Linked DNA regions of Homo sapiens: all the other regions are linked to region 2. Evidence: promoter capture Hi-C in 16 types of primary human blood cells and fetal thymus (Javierre and others, 2016). All regions are on one chromosome and are shown on one strand. Each heading gives the region's core, a stretch centred on a gene start or on the middle of the fragment in contact. The rest is flanking DNA. Distances are from core to core; before and after follow the strand shown. Region 1 overlaps STPG1 (sperm tail PG-rich repeat containing 1). Region 2 holds the start of IFNLR1 (interferon lambda receptor 1). Region 3 overlaps STPG1 (sperm tail PG-rich repeat containing 1).

What was found. The method cuts DNA at HindIII sites, captures the fragments that hold promoters and counts their contacts. A CHiCAGO score of 5 or more calls a contact.
Region 1: a contact is called between a fragment that was not itself captured here and the fragment with the promoter of IFNLR1 in region 2, in 3 of 17 cell types (megakaryocytes, monocytes and M2 macrophages). The highest score is 5.6, in megakaryocytes.
Region 3: a contact is called between a fragment that was not itself captured here and the fragment with the promoter of IFNLR1 in region 2, in 12 of 17 cell types (megakaryocytes, total B cells, monocytes and 9 more). The highest score is 9.3, in megakaryocytes.

The regions. Positions count from the first base shown.
Region 1 is chr1:24,379,050-24,382,227 of GRCh38, forward strand. It overlaps STPG1 (sperm tail PG-rich repeat containing 1), which reads right to left. Exons shown (of 9, transcript NM_001199013.2): 5 at 604-774. Among named protein-coding and RNA genes, the nearest start is that of STPG1, 33 kb to the right of the region's middle. The HindIII fragment of the contact is 392 bases long and covers 1,112-1,503 here.
Region 2 is chr1:24,185,754-24,189,298 of GRCh38, forward strand. IFNLR1 (interferon lambda receptor 1) reads right to left here and starts at 1,536. Exons shown (of 7, transcript NM_170743.4): 1 at 1,438-1,536. The coding sequence starts at 1,495. RefSeq lists a silencer at 1,309-1,798. The HindIII fragment of the contact is 11,665 bases long and covers 1-3,545 here.
Region 3 is chr1:24,395,954-24,399,357 of GRCh38, forward strand. The region is part of intron 2 of STPG1 (sperm tail PG-rich repeat containing 1); the gene reads right to left. Among named protein-coding and RNA genes, the nearest start is that of STPG1, 16 kb to the right of the region's middle. The HindIII fragment of the contact is 329 bases long and covers 1,981-2,309 here.

The sequences.
Region 1 (3,178 bases), core at 58-2,557, 190 kb after region 2:
GAACATACATCACCATTTTACAGATCAGTAAACTAAGCCCTGGAAAGGTTAAGGGACTTGCCGAAGGCCGCACAGTTAGAAAGTGGCAACAGATGAGAGCTAAACCAAACCTTCCTGAGTCCATCTCTTAACCATCCATGCCATTCTGCGTCAGTGAATACAAAGCGATCATAATTGGCACAGCAGGGCACGACTGTTAAAACACCTATTTTCTGATATGAAAGTTTATTTTCCCTAGAAGAACCTAAAAAGTAAATCATTAGTGGCTGCAGACAAAGTGGTAAATAATACACCCATTGTTACAGATGAGAAAACTACGTCCCAGAAAGGTTACAGGACAAGAGTAATTAGAATATGTGTTTCTCAGGGCAGTGGCCTCCCCACAGCTTGATACTGGCCTCCATGTTGCCCATCCTGATCTCTGGGGTCTGCAAATTCCCTGTAAGAGTCTTGTACAGCCTTAGGCACCCATTGGGTAGTCAACAAATGCTAACTGGCTTGACAACTGCATTAAAATACGATGTCCCCAAGATCCCCTCTTCCTTTTATTTTAGTAAACCATTAATTCGATCTGTATTTAGCAAGCATAGGCAGAGTTCTTACATTGTAATAGTTTGGTGCAGGAGTTTCAAACTTGAGAGCTTTCATAAAGCTTGGCAACTGGAACATGCTGGAACACGAATTACTAAAGTCTCTCTTGGAAATAAAATCCGATGGGATAGTGTATGCATTCGCTGCAGGGTATTTAGAAATGATGGTGTCCAATCGGGCGCACTGTAAGGAGACAACCAAAGGAATCAGCATTGTCACATAATATTGTGGATCTGAAGGACAGATGTCAAAAAGATGGTGACCAGCACAAGGTCTAAATGCATTTTATAAAAGGCGAAACTCTGGCAGTAACAATGATAAACTGACCTCAGGCTTTGAGGATCTTCCCTTGGAAAACGCAAGTTCAGACCTGTACTCGCTTCTGTAAACTAACTCAAATTATTCATCTTCTGTTTGGGACTTGGCAAAAATGATTTTGCCATAAATGCATTTCCACCCAATCCTGTTCCAGGCCACTTACCCTTGACTCATCAGCTGTTGGGTAATTTATGTGATAGGAAGCTTTAGATGCTCTTCTCAGCCTAGGCTTTTCTTCTGAGTAAAATCTCACATCTTGTTTCTAAGGTTAAATGATCTGAACTGCCTAAGCAACGAGTTTGCTTCAAACAAAGCTCCAGGGGGCTTGTTGTCCATCTGTGCCTCCTACCCTCCACCAAATTACTGTTTTCATCAAATCCTACAGTATTTTCACGGTTTAACAGAACCAATCCCACCCTTTCAGGAAGCCACGATAAATTATCTTCAGTTAAAAAACAAACAGAATCAATGTTTGTCAAAAGAACAGGGACAAAAGTCACAGAAACTCAGTGATAACATCACTTTCCCCTAAGATAGCATGGCAAGTATTGGAGTCTGATAAAACAAAAAATTTCCCACTATTTAATGGTCAAAAGCTTGAGAACATTGCCCTGGATTTTCTCACTTGATAGGAATCAATAACTACACAAACACAGAAAGTGGGTGAGCCAAAAGGAAGGCATTAGGGCCCCCCTACTTCACTCTGTGCTTGGTGGTGACGGTCCTCAGCGTCTGGTTTATGGACCCCCACTAGCATTTGGGGGGGTGTAGCACCAGAAGCGGGAGTGTTCTTGTCCAGAGCCTAAGTTGTTCAGAGCCTAACCTGGGTTCAAGCCCCAGCTCAACCCCAGCCTCTTCAGTAATGGGAAGTTAACTCCAACGCTGATCTGTTCCTTGAGTATCCAACTCTGCCAAACTCGAATTCTAATAAGAAGTGGCTACATGCAGTGTGTAAGGATTTGCTGATGCTCCTAGAAGTAAGGTCACCCCAGCTTTGAACGTGCTTCATCTTTTTCATTCTGGCCAAGAGTTAACCAATACCTTTGGTGGGTTTTTGTGTTGAATCCTCAGGACAACCCTGAGCAGTGGATCTTATGATTATCTCTACTTTACAGATGAGGAAGCTGAACTTCCCCAGCTAATTCAGGCGGAGGACCAGCATTCCTACCCAAGCAGTCAGCCTCCACTACATGACATGGATCAGAGAGCCCATTCTAAAGGGGAAAGGGTTGAGCGACATGGCTCTGGGATAACAGCAAGCCCATTCAATCATAGACTCTTTTTTGGTTTAGAACACCTACAACTTACATTTTGAAAATGAAAAAACTTCTTCCCAAAAAAGTCCCAGTAGAGGCAATGTTTTATAAAGTATCGTAATAGAATTAGTCTCAGAATGTGGCTACAGTAACACTCACTCACCAACACTACACACCCCTTGGTTTACTTGCCAGGCCTGTGGCCTCCAATCTGGCCAAATGCCGGCATTTATGAACTTCTCTCCAGCACCTACTAACTTTTCTAGAGCCACTCCTGCCAGCATGCAAATACAGAGAGGCCATCAAACTCTCCACCCACCTGCCTCATACACTTCTCCTAGTCAGTCCTGTGGAAGATTCTGGAGCAAAGATTTGGAATATACTAATAAAGCTCTTTATATCATTCAGACTTAGAGAGATGACAGGTCTCTCAAAAGGTTGGGTGTAGTTGTTTCAACAGTCATGAGGAAGTTTCTAAAATTTATAGACCCACAGAGTTTTTTGGTCAGCCTCACCCATAATCACATTCCTACTGGTCATTCTGATCTTTCTCTGATGAGAGCTACTTTTAATTCCCTCTAAGTCTTGGGATGCAGAAGCGGAGGAGGTGCTAAAGGTGAAAGTTACTGAAAGAGGCGGTGGGGTGGGGGATATGAAATTCTCATCCAGTTCACACGGGAATGAGGTAAAACGCAGAGATCTCCTAATAGATCGCCATCGACCACTTCAGGCACCCATCCCCAGGTACAGGACCTTAAGTGCTTATACCTGAGTGTAACATAACTATAAATACAAATTCCCATATTTGTGAAAGGGAGGAGAGGGGGAAGCCTGAGCAGCTCAAAGTCTGCCTTCTTTAGGGTTTGGTTCTGAATTTTTTAAAGGCCTGAAAGGCGTGGCTAGGTTCTGTAACACTCAGCTCTTGCCTTGGGCCCCTTCTCCTCCAGATAGTCAGGCTTTTCATTTGGAAAGTTACCGCACGCAAAGCCTTGTAGACAACCAATCGTGTCCTC
Region 2 (3,545 bases), core at 286-2,785:
TAGGTCACATGAGAAAAACAGCAGTTAGAGCAACTTTCCTCTATGAAGCCTTCAAAGGATGCCAGGCACTAGTTTGGCTCTTTACATGTAAAACCTCAATCACCCTTGGGACAGACCACCCTATGGGGTAGGTGTCATTCATTCTGCTTCCATGGAAAGGGCGCTAGGCTCAGAGACAGATGCTAACTAACTTGCCTGAGGCTACACAGTCAGTTTGTGTGGGAGCCAGTATTTGAACTTAGATCTGGCTGTACTTACTCCTAAATCATCACACCATAGTTAGTGTTGTGTATATTAAATACTTATCAGGTGAAAGTACAAGAAGGTCTGGGTTTGACAGTGAAAGGGGAACAGAAGACCCCACCCTCCCTCCACACACAGGTACACGGTCCCTCATCAGCCACAGAGAACGCTGCTGTGGGCACTGGGGGCTGGAGCATCCCTGGCTGGCCTAGTGACCCAGTGGATGGACAGCCTGTCCCACGTGCCTACCCTGGAGGCAAAAGCTAGCCAGGCTTGCTTTAGCCCCTCTTCTCTCTTCTGTGTGCCTCACCTCTGCCATCCTTCTTGAGGAATTCCCTGAATTGCTCTGAGCCTCAGTTTTCCCATCGGAAAAGTAAAAATAATATCTACCTCCGAGGATGGCTGGGTCGTGAGGCTTCCAGAATAATGCGGTGCCTGGCACAAAGAAGTTGCTGAATAAATATAGGCTTTTATGATGATTGGATTATGCCCAGGGACCTTTACAGCTCTTTAAACTGTGAGTCCAAGACTAGGAAAATATCCTGGGGGCGATTTCTGGACCTTCTCTTCCCTGCTTCGGTTGGAGTCGTGGGCGGTGAGGTTTGGTGGTTGGGTCCTACGGCGAGGAATTTTGTACCTGACACCTTACTCATCAGTAGAGGTGGGAAAACAACAACAACAACAACAACAACAAAACAACAACAAAACAACAACCACCACCAAAAGAAAGCCGTCTTGTTAGAAAGCAGGGCACAGGCGACCAGAGCTCCGTCCCACCAGAGGCCTGGCAGGAACGGGAAGGGACATCAATCGGTCCCACTTTCCCTGCTGTCCACACTTTAGGGTCAAGTGTGGTTTTCACGCAGGGATCAGTGCTTTCTTTAGGAAACATTAAAAAGCACTTTATTAAAAAATATGCAGTATCAAACTGCCGCTGTCTTTTTTCTCCAGTTCTCCTGAAGCTGGAAGCATTAGGAAACTGGATTCGTTTCCTGCGGGAGAGGAATATCAAAGACCCGGTTCTGTTCAGTCCTGGGAAGAAGCAAACTGGGGGCGCGTAGGCAGGGCCGATTCGCACCCGGCTCGGGTGGCTGCGGACCCCGTGCCTGTCCCAGGAGCTCCGGGTCCGAGGGTAGGCGCGGCCCGGCCCGGGGAGCCCTCTTCCCCCTCCCTCCCGCGGCCCCGCGCCCTTACCTGGAGCGGCCTGCAGCAGGCACAGGAGCAGGGGGCCCCAGCGCTCGGGCCCCGCCATGGCCTTCCTGCCGCGGCGTCCCCGCCCGGGCCCAGGTCCCCGCCTCCCGCCTCCCGCCTCCCGTCTCCTAGCCCACCGCGGGCAGGTGACGCAGTCGGCAGCCAATGGCCCGCAGAGCCGCGGGCCCGTCCCTGCCGCCTAGGATTCACTGAGAAGGTCCCTGGGGACAGCCCCGCCGCGGGGGGAGGGGGGGGGGGGAGCGCGCCGGTCCCCGCGCTCGAAACTCGCCCGTACCTCTGCTTCATCTGCACTTAGTTTTGTTTTACTCAATTCCCGGAAAAAAAAATCAGTAAATCCGTGCACGGGGGAAGGGCAGGGGAGGGGAAGAAACCGGCTGATGATCAATAACCCACGGCCAGTCCAGTGCTCCAGGACGGGCCATTTTGGCAGGATTAGGGAGAGTTCAAGGCCGGTTTGGCTACGCGGCCTCAATGCCATTGGCGGGATCCGAGCGCGTTTCTGAGCCGGATGCTGAGCTCCGCGCCTTACACACGCGATTCCCTTTAATGCCCCCGGGGATCCCGGCGGATCCGTGCTGCCCTTCTCCACGTACTTCTCTCCCGGGGAGCGGCAGGCCCCAGAGCTTCAGGTGCTTGTTCTGGGGAAAGCTGTCTTTCTGACCCCGAAGGCTGTGGTGTTCACCTGGACAGCAGTAGCTTCCCAGTAAGGCACACGCCACGACGCGCAATATTATGCGGCCCTTTAGGAGGACGTTGCCGAATGGTGTGTATCGACACCGAGGTGTTTGCAACACACTGAGAAACAGAAAAGCGAGTGCTAAAACATAGGCCCATTAAAAAAGTGTGTGTGTAGCCGGGCGCGGTGGCTCACGCCTGTAATCCCAGCACTTTGGGAGGGTGAGGCGGGTGGATCGCCTGAGGTCAGGAGTTGGAGACAAGCCTGGCCAACATGGTGAAACCCCGTCTCTACTAAAAATACAGAAAATCAGCCGGGCGTGGTGGCATTCACCTGTAATCCCAGCTATCAGGGAGGCTGAGGCAGGAGAATCGCTTGAACCCAGGAGGCGGAGGTTGCAGTGAGCCGAGATCGCGCCACTGCACTCCAGCCTGGGCGACAGAGTGAAACTCAGTTTCAAAAAAAAAAAAAAAAGTGTGTGTGTGTGTGTGTGTGTGTGTGTGTGAGTCTGTCTGTATGCATAGAAAGATATTTGGAATAATAATTACCAAAATATTAATGGTTGTTGTCTTTGGGTGATGAGGATTTTCTTTTTCAACTTTCTTCTTTTCTGATCATATTTCGTTTCCAATTTTTTGATAATTATTTGAAACTGGGATCAGCTTTGGTCCCATCAGTTTTTGGAAGAGAAAATGATTTTCACAGAGCTTGGTGGGTCCAAAAGTTGCTCTGAGTTTAACCGCGGGGGAAATTTCTTTTGGAAATTTCAGGATGCTTCTGGGACTAGCATCAAGGCTTCTGCTTAATCAGGATTTTTTTTCTTTTTTTTTTTTTAGACAAAAGCTCTGTCGCCCAGGCTGGAATGCAATAGTGTGATCTTGGCTCACTGCAACCCCGCCTCCTGGGTTCAAGCTATTTTCTCACTTCAGCCTCCCAAGTAGTTGGGATTACAGGCACCTGCCATCATGCTCAGCTAATTTTTGTAGAGATGGGGTTTCACCATGTTGGGCAGGCTGGTCTTGAACTCCTGACCTCAGGTGACCTCAGCCTCCCAAAGTGCTGGGATTACAGGCATGAGCCACTGTGCCTGGCCTTAATTAGGATCTCTTAACAAAGCCCTGCTCACAGAGGACGCAATTCCACCTCAAAGGCGCAGGGTGGAGGAGGATGGAAGAGCAGCAGGCACGGTCAGTGTTGGTATCTTGGGATCTCTGAAATGTTGACTGTTGACTTTCTTTTCTCCTTCCTTCCTTCCTTTCTCTCTCTTTCTTTCTTTCTTTCTTTCTTTCTTTCTTTCTTTCTTTCTTTCTTTCCTTCCTTCCTTCCTTCCTTCCTTCCTTCCTTCCTTCTTTTTTCTCTCTCTTTCCTTCTTTCTTGCTTTCTTATTTTCTTGCTTTCTTTTTTTTTGACAAGA
Region 3 (3,404 bases), core at 895-3,394, 210 kb after region 2:
GCCTGAGCGACACAGCAAGGCTCCATCTCAAAAAAAAAAAAATTTATGTAAAGCAAAAATAACAACTGTTTTGTAGGGTTTATACCATATGTACAAGTAAAATGTTTAACAACAATAACATAAAGGCCAGGAAGGGAAAAATAAAAATATACTGTTTTAAGGTTCTTCTACTATATGTGAAGTGTTATAATATCACTTGATGGTAGACCATGATAAGTTAAAGATATATACTATAAACTCTAAAGTATGTAGGGATCAACGAACTTTTTCTAAGGGCCAGATAGTACATATCTGTCTATCTATCTATCCATCTATAGCTATCTATCTATCTATCTATCTATCTATCATCTATCTATCTTATTGATCTATATTTTGAGACAGGGTCTTGCTCTGTTGCCCAGGTTGGAGTGCAGTGGTGCAGTCATAGTTCATTGCAGCCTTGACCTCCTGGGCTTAAGCAATCCTCCTGCCTCAGCCTCCCAAAGTTCTGGGATTGCAAGTGTGAGCCACCATGCCTGGCTAGATAGTAAATATTTTAGTCTTTGCAGTCTATTTATTCTCTGTGGCAACTATTCAGTGCTGCCATTATGGAGTAAAAGCAGCCACAGACAATACATAAACAAACTGGGGTGGCCGTGTTCCAATAAAACTTTATTAATAGAAATAGGCAGTGGGTCAGATTTGGTCCAAGGAGCAAAGTTTGCCAACTGTTGCTTTAAGGTAACCACTAGGAAAATACTACAAGGAGTTATTCCTAATAGGCTAACAAAGGAGATAAAATTGAAGCATTAAAAATAATACAAGAGACAGAGAAAAGGTAAATAAAGAACAGATGGGACGAATAGAAAGCAAGTCACAAGATGATAGACTTAAACTTATACACCAATAATCACATTAAATGTAAATAATCTAAATATCCCAATTAAAAAACAGAGATTCTCAGATTGGATAAGAAAGAAAGACCCAACTATATGTTACCTTGGAGAAACATACTTGAAATATAAACTCAGAAATAAGTTAAAAGTAAAATAATGGAAAAAGATTTACTATGCTAACACTAATCAAAAGATAGTTAGATATTATCAGATAAAGTAGATTTCAGAGCAAAAAATATTACCTGCAATAAAGAGGGTCATTTCATAATGGGGTCATTATGAGCAGTCAGCTCCTCAAGAGAACATAACAGTCCTAAATGCTGATGTACCCAATAAAAAGAGATTGAAAATATAAGAAGCAGAAACTGATAAAACTGCGAGAAAAAATAGAAAATTTCACAATTATAGTCAGAGATCTCAAAACATCTCCCTCGATAATTTAAACAAGTAGATAGATCAGTAAAGATATATGAAACCTGAACAAAACTATTACCTAACCTGACCTAATTGGCATTTATAGAACACTCCACCTATCAATTCCATACAAGCTGTCCCAGAAAACTGAAGAGGAAAAGACATTTCCAAACTCATTCAATGAGGCAACCACTACCTGATACCAAAACTATATGGCATCATTACAAGAGGGAAAAAGATCACTAGAGGTCAGCAGCCCTCATAAACATAAATACATAAATCCTTAGAAAAATTTTAGCGAATCAAACCAGACAATATATAAAAAGATAATACATCGTGACCAACCCCAGTAATGCAAAAATAGTTTAATATTTAAAAATCAATATAATTCATCATATTAACGGACTAAAAAAGAAAAACCATACGAGTATCTCAACAGATTAAAAAAATCATATACCTGTAACATGTACTCTTTTTGTCTGGCTTCTTTCACTCAGCATAATTACTATGAGATTCATCTCTGTTGCTGATATATCAATACTCCATTGCTTTTTATTGTTGAGTAATATTCCATTGTATAAAAACATGATGTTTATTCACTGGTGATGTAAATTTGAGTTGTCGCCAGTTTGGGGGCATTACAAATAAAACTGCTATGAGCATTTTATCTACAAGTCTTTAAATGGACATAAGCTTTCATTTTGCGGGGTAAATGCCTAGGAGTGGAATGACTAGATCATATGTTTAACTTTTTAAAAAACTGTCAAACTATTTTTCATAGTCGTTGTACTTTTGCACATCCCCACTATTAGCGTATGAAAATTTCTATGACTTCACATTCTTATCAGCAATGGGAAGTCTTTTTAATCTCAGGCATCCCATTAGGTATGTAATGGTATCTCATTATGGTTTTAATTTGCATTTCCCTAATGACTAATGATGCTAAGCAGTCCTTCATATGCTATTTTCCCTCTGTATATCTTTTTTTTGGTGAAGTAACTGTTTAGTAGATACAGAAAAAGCTTTTCATAAGATCTAATATCCTTTGATGATTAAAAGAAAAACTCTAGCAAACTAGGAATAGGAGCAAACTTTGTTAATCTGATAAAAGGTGTCTATAACAAAAGCCTATAGCAAACAGGATACCAAATTGTGAAATATTAAAGGCTTTCCCTTGAGACAGGGAGTGAAACTAGTACAACTGCTATTATCCTTCTATTCAACGTTGTACTGAAGGTCTCTAGCCAATACAAACGCCTACATAAAATATATTAAAAATACATAAAATATATGGATGAGAAAGGAAGAAATAAAGTTGTCATTTTCACAGATTACAAGATTGTGTATGGGGAAATTGCAAAATAATCTGTGGACACCCTATAAGAGGTAATAGTTGGATTTAGTGAGGTCACCAGAATCAAGGTCAATATACAAAAATCAATTAATTTTTTTGTACAGCAGCAACAAACAATTTAAAATAAAATTTAAAATTACCATTTATAACAGCATAAAAATCAAATGCCTACAATAGATATAATGAAGATATGCAAGACTTCTACATAGAAAACTCCAAAACATTGAGAACAATTTAAGGTAACTTAAATAAAAGGATCTATACATGGATTAGAGAAGTTAATATTTATTGTAAAGATGTAAATTATCCTTAAATTGATTTCTAGAATCAATGCAATCCAAATTAAAATGAGAGTAGAGTTTTTTTAAGACATTAATAAGCTGATTGTAAAATTTGTATAGCTACCCAGATTTGATCATCGCACATTATATTCTTGTATCAAAATATCATGTGTGCACCATAAATATGTACAACTATTATGTATCCATAAAAATTAAAAATAAAAAAGTAAAATAAATTTATATGGAAATGCACTGGGGTCAAGAATAGCCAGCATAAACAAAGAAGTACAAAGTTGAAGGGCTTATGCTACTAAAGAGTTATTATAAAGTTACAGTAATTAGGACAGTATGATATTTGAACAGAATAAATAATCAAGAAGCAGAGCTGCATATGCCTGGACACTTGATTTATGACAAAGGTAGCAACAGCAATACAGAGTAGTAGAGAATGAGCAGCCTTTCAATAAATGGTGCTGGGTC